Linked DNA regions of Homo sapiens: region 2 is linked to region 1. The links are contacts of gene promoters, found by promoter capture Hi-C in human tissues and cell types (Jung and others, 2019). All regions are on one chromosome and are shown on one strand. Each heading gives the region's core, a stretch centred on a gene start or on the middle of the fragment in contact. The rest is flanking DNA. Distances are from core to core; before and after follow the strand shown. Region 1 holds the start of PRH1 (proline rich protein HaeIII subfamily 1). Region 2 has its middle 12 kb from the start of TAS2R7.

Region 1 (7,773 bases), core at 1,715-4,214:
GGCAAACCATCTTTAGTGTTCCAGGCAAACTAGAGCATGGTGAAGTCGAAGAAGATTCTACTTTCTGTTCCATTCAGAGAGCTTCCTGGTTTTCAAAAAAGAGTGAGGCATGTGGGTGTGAAAGAGCTGAGGCATGAAATTTGGATCTTATCACAAGTGCAGAAGAAAAAACAGGAGATTTGAAGCACAAATGTGATATAACCTAATTTCTACTTTTAAATGATCACTCTGATTGTTGTGAGGGAACTGATATGGGATGAGCTGGGGGAAGAACATTACCAAGACCAGCTGGAGGCTGGTAAAGTCCTCCAGGAGAGAGCATCATGGCTGAACAATCACCTTCTAGTAAAGATCAGGCAAGTGGTCATATTTGGGACGTATTTTGAAAGTGGAGGCAATTAGATCGGCTAATGCATAAGTTCCTGGAGGGAGCGAGGATTTTTGAACCACTAGGTAAACACCTGTCAGTGACCGAGAAAATGTTGGGATGTGTTATGAGAGATGAATCCTAAAATTTCATATGTTGAAGACTGGCCCTTCAGGGCCTCAGAATATGAACATCTATAGTAGAAGGCAAGTGTGGTGCTGAGGGCTGCCACCCACCTCTAGGTACCCAAGCTCCTGCAGCAGTCCTGCGTCTCCCTTTCACCCACCTTCACTCACAGACAGTGTCCCTTTCAGCTCTTCCATTACCTCTGTTTTTGATGTGTCTAGTGAGAGCATAGCTGATATTTATGCTTTCCTGATACACTAGTCTCTCGCTGATTGCTGACATTGGAGCAGGTTAGGGAGCAGGCCTGAGCTGAGTGACCTTTAGGAGGATTTCCTGTTCTTTTCCTGTACTCTGCTGCCAAGGAGAAACCTGTCTTGCACCAGGCCTGCAGCTTCCTCAGTCCCCCACATCATCAGGCAATATCTGCCTGGCACTCCTCTTTGTTCCTTTTCTCTGACCTTCCTTTTTGACATGATGGTTGACCTGAAGTCACCGAGGCAGGACTGCTCATCTCCAGGTCCTATGGGAAACAGTACCTGGTGAAACCAGAGACAATAATCTCCATAACGCATTGGGAGCTGCTGGGCTCAAGCAACTACTCTGTGCCTGAGATACAACTCATACGGCCCAGCTAGAGCTGATCTACTTCCCACAGGGCCAGAGAAGAATTGCCAATTAAGAATGCATTCCCCCCTGAAATAGGTCTATATTTATTCCAGGGAAAATACCAATCTGCCTGGGTCCCTTACAAGAACAATGTCGTCTGTAGCAAAATCTAATCTACTAGGAAGCCTTCTTGTATTATTATCTGCAACTTTTCAGAAGAGCCATACCAGACCCTCATATGCCCAGCACAGGATCCACTCATGCACACCTGTCTAGGGCCTTGTCTTTATGATTTTCTGTCACCTGGCTTCTCAGCCATGCCTCCAACCAAGCTATCCTCAAATAAAGACTAACCATGCACAAAAAGTGAAAAATTACACAAGACCTACTCAAGGTCTGAAATGGAAAGTGCAGCTGGTGATTCTGAGTAGTATATTTTATGAATTGATGAGCAGGGAATTTCTAGGTATCACAGAGCAATCAGCAGCTGAGGAGAGAGCGACAAAACCAGGACTCTGACAGGGCTTTTTGGAAACTTAATTTTTGGAGCAATCAGCAGCTGAGGAGAGAGCTACCAAACCAGGACCCTGACAGGGCTTTTTGGAAACTTAATTTTTTATTGTCAAATTATACAGACAAAAATGAAAGTAAAGGTAGTGAGGAGTACCACACACCTTTACTTAGAAGGATAAATAAAGGACACCTTTGTAGGGAGAAAAAAAAAGATATAGGACGAAAAGTAAACATGGCAAGGTAGACTCAGAATACAAAATTTCAACAAATAAGTGCGAGAAAAAGAATGAGAAAGAATGAGTATTGGAATATTACAGATAAAAATCCTTGGTGAGAAAGAACACTCTGATGAAACAGGTGACATAATTACTGAGTAAAAGCAGAAGACCAATCAAGGCAATTGAGGCTTGGACAGGTATTACAAATTATCTTAGATGAATGTATAATTGTGGCCATTTAATTATCAGTGATGACAATTACAATATTTATTAGAAGAAATAAAGTAGAGGATGAATTCTATGGAATATTCTGGAGAAAGTGGAGGTCTTAGCTATATGACATCGTGTGGCTCACTTAGGGAACCATATATTCAGTTTGTTCAGGTCTAGAAATTCCTTGGTGGTTTCTGAGTTCAGTTTTGCTTTAATAAACCCTAAAGATATTTTTAAAATACAAATATTTTAGCTTGCCTGTGTTGTATAGCACCAAGGCTTGCCTGAGTGTAGTGAGATTCACAGAAGTTTGGACAATTCTTGTAGCCTGAGCAGGCTGCCAGCACCTTTCTCTCATATATGTGTGCCTGGGAGTGTGCTGTCCTCACACATCTCACAGATAAGCAAGACCATCTCTGTTACATGAAAAATTTAGCTAAATGTGAAAATATCCACGCACACACATCATGAGAGATGGAAAGAGGCTATCAAAACAGTCAGAGATATTGACCATCTTCACTGTTAGCTGTAGGATCAGTGTCCACCCCCCGACACACCCACACAAACTCACATACACAGAAATGAAAAGCACAGTGAAAAGCAGAATAGCAGTCTTTCCAAACAGATTGAAAACCAAAAGATGTCTAAAGTTCAATCCTGACACTGTGCCGACTGCTTGGACACAGTTCCGTCAAAACATTTGTCCAAGTCATAGTTGTGCCTTTTAGGAATTAGACACAAACAATATCCTACCCAACCCTTCCTGCTGAGCTAGAGTCCCAAAAGAAATGAGGGATACACTTGACCTGAAGTAAGCAAAGCAGAAGCCAGTCTCTGAGGCGAGGAGGCCCACCTGGTAGGGAGCTCAAATGCACCATTGTCCTGCTTGTCTTTATAAAGGGAGCTGACACGTTTCTCCCAGCACAAAGTTGGGAGTGACACCAGAGCCTCCTGCAAGATGCTTCTGATTCTGCTGTCAGTGGCCCTGCTGGCCTTCAGCTCAGCTCAGGATTTAAATGAAGGTAAGATGAATTGGGGGAAGATATTGTGACTCTGATTGGGGTTTACAGGCAAATGCTATAGAGGAGGAAAGTGGAGGGAAGAGAGGAGGATGAGAAAACAGATGGGACTGCAGAGTTCTCATGCTGAGGATCAGAAGATCTATTGTACCTCCATTCCTCATCAAGGCCTCATAGTTTATTTGTTGCACAAATAGAATCCAATAAAGAATTCGTACTAGGGGTGTGAGAGAGTGAGATTTGCATTATATAGAGACATGGGACTGCTGTGAAGGATGTGGAGAATGCAAGACAGATTCAGGGAAGTACAGCTGTGAAGATCCTGTACTGATCCCAGTAGACAGGGATGATGGTGGCCTTGCTGTACAGTGGATGAGCATTAATGAAGGAGATAAACACATGTCAGAGCTACTGCCGAGGCAGAGAATTGGGTAAACACTTGTCTCTGTCTACATAGAGTTAGAGAATAACCAGAGTGAAACATTGTCATTTTTCTGTCTCCTGAATGTAGTATTTCAATGTGCTGGGAATGGCATGCGTAAGATTATATCCAAGTGGCTATGTCTGGTGGCTCCTGTTGAGAAGGCTTGCAAACATAAACAACATATTTACAGATGAAAGAGGGCAGAAGAATCCCCAAATATGTCATTGAAATACTCAGAGCAGTTTAACTAAATAAGCGCTAAGGGTTTACAGGCAAATGCTATAGAGGAGGAAAGTGGAGGGAAGAGAGGAGGATGAGAAAACAGATGGGACTGCAGAATTTTCATGCCGAGGATCAGAAGACCTATTGTATCTTCATTCCTCATCAAGGCTTGGGGAATCAAAAGAGGACAAACAGGGGCCCTTCTATGTTGAGTTCCTGGTTGACGCTCAGTGTAGTAACAATACTGCTTTCCCTTACATCTTCTTCCACTTCCAGTAGCATCAGAGAGTGGCTGATGAGATCACAAAGGGGATGCACAGGGTGTGATCAGAGGTCCTTTATCCTCGTAGAACACTATGAGCCTTGAATGATTCAGGAAGTAACTTTTCCCATCATCCTGTACTTCTTTTCTAGATGTCAGCCAGGAAGATGTTCCCCTCGTAATATCAGGTAAATCCCAATAAATTCTCAGTAAACTCTGTCTCCATTTTTCCCTGAAAAATTGATGAGTTCTCCAGTGTCTTCTTATCACCATTTTCTTGTCAGGAATTGGCTAATACCAATGCCCCAAAGATACAAACAGTTTTCTCCCAACCTTGATTCTGGGGACCATGAGTAAAGAAATTCAATTTTTCATCACCCTTATGTGGATTAAGAGGAGTTCTAATTAGGAAGCCTTGGGAAGGGGGGAGGTTGGGAGTTGAGAGGCAGGTCAGGCAGAGAGGGGCCGGCCGTGTGGTGAAGACAGAGAGGTATGAAGACAGGAGGGTTTTCCAGCATGAGCTCAGCTCTTCTTGTTTCAACTCACACAGATGGAGGAGACTCTGAGCAGTTCCTAGATGAGGAGCGTCAGGGACCACCTTTGGGAGGACAGCAATCTCAACCCTCTGCTGGTGATGGGAACCAGGATGATGGCCCTCAGCAGGGACCACCCCAACAAGGAGGCCAGCAGCAACAAGGTCCACCACCTCCTCAGGGAAAGCCACAAGGACCACCCCAACAAGGAGGCCAGCAGCAACAAGGTCCACCACCTCCTCAGGGAAAGCCACAAGGACCACCCCAACAGGGAGGCCATCCCCCTCCTCCTCAAGGAAGGCCACAAGGACCACCCCAACAGGGAGGCCATCCCCGTCCTCCTCGAGGAAGGCCACAAGGACCACCCCAACAGGGAGGCCATCAGCAAGGTCCTCCCCCACCTCCTCCTGGAAAGCCCCAGGGACCACCTCCCCAAGGGGGCCGCCCACAAGGACCTCCACAGGGGCAGTCTCCTCAGTAATCTAGGATTCAATGACAGGTACGATTCCAGTTTATTATCCATCAAAGGCTCCAACTGCTACAGTTCTCCAACTTCATTGTGCCAATGAATCCTCTGAAAACCTGTTAATATTGCCCTGTCCTGGAACACATTTCTAAAAATTGTTATTCAGATATTCTTGTATAGAGTATCAAGACCCTGTGACCCTGTGTTTTACAGAAGCTCTTGAAGGCAATTCTGATTTTGAGAATCACTATCTTCAAATTACATGTCTTAAGTAGGGTTGACAATGAGGACATAGAACCATGTTCCCCCTTTGGCTCTCTCTATTTTCTTTCCTCAAACTCAGACTCCCATTTAAAGTTTTCACCTGAACATGCTTTGCTCAGTCCTGCCTCACATCAGGCTTTCAGGTCCAGTATTCCTGCTAAGTGGTCCTTGAACTTTCAGTTGTAAAATGGTATCTCATTTTTAGTATACTTACATTTAAAGTCATACATGCTTAAGCTAACAAAAACTAATCTCACTGAACCGAAATGTACAGAGCTAAATAGTAAGAGCCTAACTCATCTTTCCTCCCTTCTATCCTTCTCAAAACCCCCACCTTTTACTCTTTGGAATCTACTTTTTGAAATATATATTGCTACATAAATATATATAATGCTTTTATTACAAGCACTTATACCATACTGTATATTCAGATTTGTGTCTTACTCACTGGAAAAATTTATTGTTTAGAAAACTTTCTCATGAGTTCATTTAGATCTCTTCAGTGTTTATTGGTTAGTTTGTTTTTACAATTGTATACTATTCTATTGTTTGGTTGTTCCGTAATCTATTTAACCAATCCCTGTCACTGGATATTAAGGCTGGATTCACATTCTCACTATTATATGATATGTTGCAGTGCCCATCTTTGTAAAAATAGCCCTTACATAACCAACAGCAGCAAAGCATGAACACATAACAATAATTGTTTCTCTTTCTCATCTAAGCAACACTTTAAATCACATTATGTGCAATGGCTTAAAGAGTGAACAAAGAAAATATTACTAAGGAGAAGGGGGCTGTAGAAGGGATAGAGGGCAAGAGTAGGGGCTTGCATCTCCATCACTGCAGTAACCCCCAGTGAGGGATTAGACATTTCCTGCCATGTCAAGTGTTGTCTGTAATCTTCCTTGTTTGCTTGTCTTTTTCAGGAAGTGAATAAGAAGATAACAGTGTTTCAAATGCCGTGAAACATGGCATCATGCTCTAACTTCAGTATACCAATAAAACAATCAGCTTGCAATTTCTGCTGGTGGTGTCTCTTTCTGAGTGTTTGGGACTCTAGAATCTGAGACCCATGTTCACATTGTAAGAATATCCAGGACCCCTTCTCCTTGATGTTTCCAGCAAGCTTCTCTCCTCCTTATCCTTATTAAGTCATCCACCTGGGGAAGGAGTTCCACTGTTTCTTTCCTTCTCTGTCTTCTATAGCTCGAATTTAAGTTGTACAATTATTTTCAGGTCATTTCTTGATATTCTAGTCAGCTTATGAATGTAAGCAAAACAATACCAATGAAAGAAAATCCCAGAAGCTGAGAGAAATTTTAACAAGTTCAAAAGTAACCGATTTTGTTTTCTAGGGAAATGAGTATGGTTCTATGCCTCTATTCCCCAGAAGCCACTAGACCTATTTTCCCATATTTTATCACTGATCAGTTCTGTCCCTGCCTATGAGTCTTACTATTCTTAAGAAAACCTAAATGGATTTCATCAGAGGCAGCCTGACTTGAATGGGCAAAGAATTTGGAATCTCTCAGATTGCAGTTTAAGAACTATGTCTTGCTAACTCTGGACTCATAGGAAGCTACTTAAGTCTCAGAGCCTAAGTTTCCTCTTCTAAATTTTTGAATAATCAAAATGGCTCCCCTAAAGGATGAAGACTAAGCAGATCACATACATGAAACACTAGTGGATATAGTCATGTCTGCTTCACAATAATGATTTTAGGAAAGAACAGCAGACATGAAATTGTGAGGAATTAAATGTTCCCGAGTTAAAAATCTTAAGATTTCTTTGTCCAAAAAATCTAAGTAGAATAGTCTCTGATATTGTTTTTTTCTAGGCTTTCAAACAAAATAGGAACACACTGAGTATTCATATTTTTTTTAGCATTTTCTTTCTTATCAGACCCGTAAAATTCTAATTAGGTTTTTTTTAAAAAAAATAGTATCTGCTTATGGAAATTTAATTATGACAATTAGAAATGCAGGCTCTTTCTTCCTCCTCCTCCTCCTCTTCCTTCTTTTTTATTTCTCCTACTCCATCTCCCTCTTTTTCTTTTTTGAAAAAATATGCTTAAATTTGCCTTCAATTATATTTATTTATTTATTTATTTATTTATTTATTTATTTATTTTGAGATGGAGTCTCATTCTGTCACCCAGGCTGGCCTGCAGTGGCAAGATATCGGCTCACTGCAACCTCCGCCTCCCAGGTTCAAGCGATTCTCCTGCCTCAGCCTCCTGAGTAGCTGGGATTACAAGCATGCACCACCATGCCTGGCTAATTTTTGTATTTTTAGTTAAGACGGGGTTTCACCATGTTGGTCAGGCTGGTATCGAACTCCTGACCTCGTGTTCCATCCGCCTCGGCATCCCAAAGTGCTGTGATTACAGGCGTGAGCCACCGCACCCGGTCACCCTCAATTTATTTTTAAACTTTATTTTTATAAATATATGTGGTTCAAAGATAATTTTGTTACATGTATACATTGCATAATGGTTAAATCATGGCCTTAGGGTTTCCATAACAAGAATAACAAAT
Region 2 (7,773 bases), core at 2,835-5,334, 94 kb after region 1:
GAATGTTGATTACAAGTCAACAATTCAAAGCCAGCCTGCTTGGGTTAAAATCGTGACTGTGTCACTTCCTAGTCACATAAACCTGGGAAAATTACTCAGTCTAATCTGGCCTCAGTTTCCTCGTGTATAAATTAGAAATGGTAATAGAGCTCACTTTTTGGGTTCTCATGAAGACAGCATCAAAATATGAAAAGGTCATTTAGTAAATGCTCAAAATTAATGCTAGTTATTATTATAATAAATATGTTTCTAGAATGCAGTGGGAAAGAACATAGCATAAAAATTGTAATGCAATAACAGAAAGGAACAGAGAATGGGCAGCCAACATACAGACAATTTGGCACAGAAGCAAAAATGAAAGATTAGTAGAAAAAAATTTTCCTAGCTGAGAAAGTCACATGAAGACTGAAAGAGCAAATCAATAAAAATAAAAGTCCAAACTAGTTACATCTCATGAAAAATTTAAAACTACAAATATAATTATTGTCATGTGCCACATAATGACATTTTTGTAAATGACAGATTGCATACACAACAGTGGTCCCATAAGATTATAATGAAACAGAAAATTCCTGTTGCCTAGTGACATTGCAGCCATCCTAACATCATAGGACAATGCATCACTCACCTGTTTGTGATGATGCTGGTGGAAGCAAGCCTACTGCATTATCAGTTGTATAAAACTATAGTGCACACAGTTTTTTATAACACATAATATTTGATAATAACAAACAACTGTTACTGGTATATGTATTTACTATACTTCTATGTATTTACTATACTTCTTATCAGTATCTTAAAGTATACTTCTACTTATAAAAAGAAAGTTAAGTGTAACTTCTGCTTATTTAAAAAAAAGAAATTCATTGTAAAAAGACCTCAGGCAGGTCTTTCAAGAGGTATTCCAGAAGAGCGCAGTTATCCTAGGAGATGGCAGTTCCATGCTTGTAATTGCCCCCAAAGACCTTGCAGTGGGACAAGATGTGGAGGTGGAAGACAGTGATATTTGTGACCCTGACACTGTGTAGACCTAGGCTAATGCGTGTGCTTGTGTCTTAGTTCTTAACAAAAAAGTTTAAAAAATAAAAAAAATTAAACAATAAAAATTTTTATAAAAGAAAAACTTATAGAGTAAGGATATCAAGAAAGAAAATATTTTTGGACAGCTGTACAATGTGTTTGTGTTTTAGCCTAAGTGTTACTACAAAAGAGTCAAAAAGTTTAAAAAATGATCAATAAAAAAATTCATAGTAGGCTAAGGTCGATTGATTACTGAGAAAAGATAATTTTTTAAATAAGCTTAATGTAACCTAAGCATACAGTGTCTATAAAGTCTACTGTAATGTACGGTAATATCCTAGGCCTTCACATTCACTCACCACTCACACATTGACTCACCCAGAGCAACTTCCAGTCCTGCAAGCTTCATTCATGGTAAGTTCTTGATGGTAAGTTCTCCATTCATGGAAAGGCCGTGTCCCCACCCAAATCTCACCTTGAATTGTAATAATCCCCATGTGTCAAGGGCAGGTCCAGGTAGAGGTAATTGAATCGTGGGGGTGGTTACCTTCATGTTGTTCTTGTAATAGTGAGTGAGTTCGCACGAGATCTGATGGTTTTATAAAGGACTTTGCCCCCTTTTGCTCAACACTTCTCTTGCCCGCCACCATGTAAGATGTGCCTTTGTTCTTCCTTCACCTTCCATCATAACTGTGAGGCCTCTTCAGCCACCTGAAACTGTGAGTCCATTAAACTTCTTTTTCCTTATAAATTACCCAGTCACAGGCATGTCTATTAGCAACGTGAGAACAGACTAATATAATAAATTGGTACCAGGTCGTGGGGCACTGCTGTAAAGATACCGAAAATGTGGAAGCAACTTTGGAAATGGGTAACAGGCAGAGGTTGGAACAGTTTGGAGGGCTCAGAAGAAGACAGGAAAATGTGACAAAGTTTGGAACTTCCTAGAGGTTTGGAGTACTCAGAAGACAAAAAGATGTGGGAGAGTTTGGAACTTCCTAGAGACTGGTTGAATGGCTTTGACCAAAATGCTGATAGCGATATGAACAATAAGGTCCGGGTTGAGGTGGTCTCAGATGAAGATGAGGAACTTTTGGGAACTGAAGTAAAGGTCACTCTTGCTATGCGAAGAGACTGGTGGCATTTTGCCTCTGCAATAGAGTTCTGTGGAACTTTGAGAGAGATGATTAAGGGTATCTGGAAGAAGAAATTTTTAAGTGGCAAAATGGTTCAAGAGGAAGCAGAAAATAAAAGTTTGGGAAATTTGTAGCCTGACAATGCAGTAAAAAAGAAAAACCCATTTTCTGGGAAGAAATTCAAGCCTGCTACAGAAATTTGCGTAAGTAATGAGAAGCCCAATGTTAATCACCAAGACAATGGGGAAAACGTCTTCGGGGCATGTCAGAGACCTTTGCAGCAGCCCCTCCCATCTCAGGCCCAGAGGCCTAGGAGGAAAAAAATGGTTTCAGGGGCTGGCCCCAGGGCCGCCCTGTTGTGTGCAGCCTAGGGACTTAGTGCCCTGCATCCCAGCTGCTCCAGCCATGGCTAAAAGGGGCCAAGGTACAGCTCAGGTCATGGCTTCAGGGGGTACAAGCCCCAAGTTTTGGCAGCTTCCATGTGGTGTTGAGTCTGCAGGTGCACAGAAGTCAATAATTGAGGTTTGGGAACCTCCACCTAGATTTCAGAGAATGTGTGGAAATGCGTGGATGTCCAGGCAGAGGTGTGCTGCAGGGGCTGGGCCCTCATGGAGAACTTCTGCTAAGGCAGTGTGGAAGGGAAATGTGGGGTTGGAGACCTCACACAGAGTCCCCACTTGGGCACTGCCTAGTGGAGCTGTGAGAAGAGGGTCACCATCCTCTACACCCCAAAATGGTAGATCCACCAACAACTTGCACCATGTACCTGGAAAAACTGCAGACACTCAACACCAGCCTGTGAAAGCAGTCAAGAGGGAGGTTGTACCTTGCAAACCCACAGAGGCGGAGCTGCCCAGGGCTGTGGCAGCCCACCTTTTGCATCAGCATAACCTAGATGTGAGACATGGAATCAAAAGAGATCATTTTGGAGCTTTAAGATTTGACTGCCCCATTGGATTTTGGACCTGCATGGGGCCTGTAGCCCCATGCTGTGGGCAATTTCTCCCATTTGGAATGGGTGTATTTACCCAATGCCTGTACTGCCACTGTATCTGGAAAGTAACTAAATTGCTTTTAATTTTACAGGTTCCTAGGTGGAAGAGACTTGCCTTGTCTCAGATGAGACTTTAAACTGTTGACTTTTGAGTGAATGCTGAAATGACTTAAGACTTTGGGGGACTGCTGGGAAGGTATGATTGGTTTTGAAATGTGAGGACATGAGATTTGGGAGGGGGCGGGATGATATGGTTTGGCTGTGTCCCCACCCACATCTTACTTCGAATTGTAATAATCCCCATGTGTTAAGGGCAGGCTCAGGTGGAGGTAATTGAATCACTGGGGCAGTTACCCTTATGCTGCTCTCGTGATAATGAGCGAGTTCTCACAAGATCCGATAGTTTTATATGAAGCTTTTCCCCCTTTTGCTCGGCACTTCTCTTGCCTGCCGTCATGTAAGAGACGTCTCTGCTCCTCCTTTACCTTCCACCTTGATTGTGAGGCCTCCCTAGCCATGTGAAACTGTGAGTCTATTGAATCTCTTTTTCTTTATAAATTACCCAGTCTCAGGTATGTCTTTATTAGCAATGTGAGAGCACACTAATACAGTTCTCTATATAGGTGTATTGTTTTTTAATCTTTTATACTATATTTTTACTATACCTTTTCTATGCTTAGTATGCACAAATACAACTCTGTTACAAGTGCCTACAGTTTTCAGTGCAGTGACATGCTGTACAAGTTTGTAGTCTAGGAGCAATAGGCTGCACCATATAGCCTAGGTGTGTAGTAGGCTATGCCACCTAGGTTTTTGTGAGTACACTAAATCATGTTCACACAATGATAAAATCACCTAACAACACATTTTTCAGGTGTATTGCCATCATTAAACAATGCATGACTGTATTTTATTTTATAGAAGTATCCAGGTAGTAGAGAGAGGTGGGTACAGTTATTCACAAGGAAATAAAATTCAGGCTTGCCTAATAAACATAAAAAACAATAATATATGACACATAAAGTTAAGGAATTGTACACTAAAGCTAGGAGATGCCATTTTCTAAATGTGAAATCAGCAGGGGTGACGTATTTGGTGAAAAGTATCAATTAATACAAACAACTTGGAAAAAGATTTGGCAGTAGGTACTAAAGCCAAACATGCCCATATTCTATGACCTAGCAATTTTTGTTCCAGAAATAGACACAACAGTAATGTAAGATATGTGCACTAAAAAATGTGTATGATTATTAACAGTATGATTTGAAATAGCCCAAATTAGAAATAACTCATATGCCTGTCAGCAGGAAAATAGATGAGTAAATTGTAGTATAGTCATGGAATGGAATATTATATAGCAATGAAAATAACACTACTCCTACCATACTCATAGAAAATGCTGAGTGAAAGAAACTGAACTGGGAAGAGTAAATATTATATTGTTACACTTTACATAAAGTTTGAAACAGTAAAACTAATCAACATGAAAGATATGTGTACAGGCAGTGGAGAGTAGTATCTGAGAAACAGTACAAGGGATTCCTTTGGAGTGTTATAATATAATGTAAAATATTCGTGTATGACTTAGTGAGCTGGACTGCATTACATAGATGTGTTTGCTGTATAAATATCTGTAAATCTGCATAGTTATAATTTGTACATTTTTCTAGAGGTATATTACATTTTAACAATATTTACTTAAAAATTATTAATTACATGATATACATTTGTGTACACTATATAATTTGTTTAAAACTTTGTTAGTAAGAATATAGGAAGCAGCCATTCTCTTATACCTTTGGGGAGTTCAAATTGATGCAATTTTTGGAAGACCAGTTGTACAAACTATCAACATGTAAAGTGTGCCTGGTGTTTTATCCAGAAATCTCAGTCTTAGAATTTATCCTGCAACTATTATTGCATAATAGGTAAATAAATGAATAAGAAATTTTATTGCAGCACTGCTTATAATAGCAAAATACTGGTAACAATATAAATGTTCATCAAATTTGTTAAATAACTTATAGATCACCAATACAAAAAATATATAATTCAGTTATTAAAAAGAATTCAGGAGATATAAATGTGTGGCATGCATATGGAATTATATCCTAACTATATTATTAAATAAAAACAAAGATTAGCATGATCCCATTTCTACATAAAAGGAATATGTATACACATATATATAATGATTTTTTCACTCAGCATTTTGTTGAATGTAGCAGTAGTGTGTTCATTTTCATTTTTATTAATAGCAGTGACCATTTTTCTTTCATTTTCATTAATATAAATTGGTGTAAAACTAAGTGCAGTTTTGCCATCACTTACTTTTGCACCAACCTAATATATGCATATATATATGAGACAGATTTGTGTTCAGAAAATATTTCAAATTACAGACAAAAATGTTATTAGTGATGTATTTCTGGAAATGAAATTGTGGTGGAAGTCAGTAAGACTTTTTCTGTTTATGCTCCTATGTTGTTTAAACATTAATGATAAGTTTTAACATTTTTAAAATACTGTTAAAAATGAAGACCCTAGCCAGCAAGCTGTAGTCTAATAAAATGAAAAAGAACTACCCTGCAATTTGCCTTAAGTCTTAACTTCCCACTTCCTGATTTGCTTCTGCCAGGTTCAGATCTTGGCCTTTAAGCATCACTTGAAGTCTAGTTTTTGCTCCAGTAAACACTTGACACCTTCCTTTCTATCATCCAATAATTAAATTGTTTTAGCCTTTAATTCCACATGGCTCTATGAGGCTTTGACCTTTACCTGCTTTCACTGATAATTGACCTTCATTTTACTCCCTAAAGCCTTCTTCCAAATGTAACTTTTACCTTCACCCCCTGCTCTTTAGAATTAATGAGTCATGATCTTGATTTTAATATTCATATGCCCAAACTTGAGACTGACAATATATGCCCAAAGTATTGTGTAAGCCCTTTTAGCCATCTTATTATTTAATCTAATCCTGACAACCTTGCAAAATAGGTACTATTATCATTCCAATGTTGTAAGAAATAAATTGAGGTATAGATTATATTTATCTCTATTACAAAGCAGCAGTAATCAAAACATTATGGTGCTGGCATAATAACAAGCATATAGACTAATGGGACAGAATAGAATCCAGAAAGAAATTCATGCATTTATATTCAACTAATCTTTGACAAGGATTTCAAGAACACACAATGGGGAAAAGGATAGTCTCTTCAATAAATGCTGTTGGGAGAACTGGATATCCACATGTGGAAGAATGAAAGTAAACACTTATCTCACACCATCTATAAAAATGCACTCAAAATGAACTAAAGGTGAGATCAGAAACTGTAACCCTACTTTTAAAAAAAACATAGAGGCTGGGCGCGGTGGCTCATGCCTATAATCCCAGCACTTTGGAAGGCCGAGGTAAGTGGATCACAGGGTCAGGAGTTGAAGACCAGCCTGGCCAACATGGTGAAACTTGGTCTCTACTAAAAATACAAAAATTAGCCTAGTGTGGTGGCACACACCTGTAGTCCCAGTTACTCGGGAGGCTGAGGCAGAAGAATTGCATGAACCCAAGAGATAGAGGTTGCAGTGAGCTGAGATCGCACCACTGCACTCTAGCCTGGGTGACAGAGCAAGACTCTGTCTCAAAAAAAAAAACAAAAAAAAAAAAACATAGAACAAAACTTCTTGACATTGGTCTGGGCAATGATTTTTTGGATATGATCCCAAAAACACAGATGACAAAAGCAAAAATAAGGAAGTGAGCCTACATCAAAATAAAGACTTCTGCACAGCAAAGGAAAATAATCAACAAAGTGAAGGAAACAGCCTGCAGAAAGGGATAAAATATTTGCAAACCATGTATCTGATTAAGAATTAATATCCCAAATACATAAGGAACTCAAACAACTACCTAGCAAAAAACAACCCAATAACCCGATTAAACAATGGGCAAAGGACCTGAATAGACATTTCTAAAAATACAACATACAAATGGCCAACAGGTCAATGAAAAGGTGCTCAACATCACAAAGCATTAGGGGAATGCATATCAAAACTGCAGTGAGATATCACCTTATAACTATCAGAATGACTATTACCAAAAGACAAAATAAAAGTTTGAGCAAGGATGTGGAGAAAAGGGAACCCCTGTACACTGTTGGTGGAATTGTCAATTAGTACAGCCATTATGGAAAACCATATGGATGTTCTTCAAAGATTTTTGAAAAAGAAGTACCATATAATCCACCAATCCCATTTTTGAGTGCACATGCAAAGGAAATCAAATCAGTATGTTAAAGATATATCTGTAGTGTCATGTTAATTGCTGTTCTAGTCATAATAGCCAAGATATGGAAACAACCTAAGTGTCCATGGATGAATGATTTTTTCAAAAACGGTAAACACATACACACACACACACACACACACACACACACACACACACAGGAATAGTATTCAGCTTATAAAAAGAAGAAAATTCTACCTTTTGCAACAGCATAGATGAACCTGGAGGACATAAGCCAGACACAAAAAGACAACTACTGCATGATCTCACTTAAATGTGGAATCTAAGAGTCAAACTAAAAAATCAGAGAGTAGAATGGTAGAAGAAATGAAGAGATA

Evidence for each region. Contacts are between HindIII fragments. The study calls those that stand out against the background at their distance.
Region 2: a fragment that was not itself captured here is called in contact with the fragment with the promoter of PRH1 in region 1 in 2 of the 25 tissues and cell types used here (small bowel and spleen).

Annotation. Positions count from the first base shown.
Region 1 is chr12:10,879,446-10,887,218 of GRCh38, reverse strand. It overlaps PRH1 (proline rich protein HaeIII subfamily 1), which reads left to right and starts at 2,964. Exons shown (of 4, transcript NM_001393989.1): 1 at 2,964-3,065; 2 at 4,123-4,158; 3 at 4,521-5,002; 4 at 6,163-6,254. The coding sequence starts at 3,002. The coding sequence ends at 4,984. PRH1-PRR4 (PRH1-PRR4 readthrough) reads left to right here. Exons shown (of 10, transcript NR_037918.2): 5 at 2,944-3,065; 6 at 4,123-4,158; 7 at 4,521-5,002. The HindIII fragment of the contact is 11,699 bases long and covers 1-7,528 here.
Region 2 is chr12:10,786,645-10,794,417 of GRCh38, reverse strand. No RefSeq gene overlaps it. Among named protein-coding and RNA genes, the nearest start is that of TAS2R7, 12 kb to the left of the region's middle. The HindIII fragment of the contact is 8,880 bases long and covers 1-7,773 here.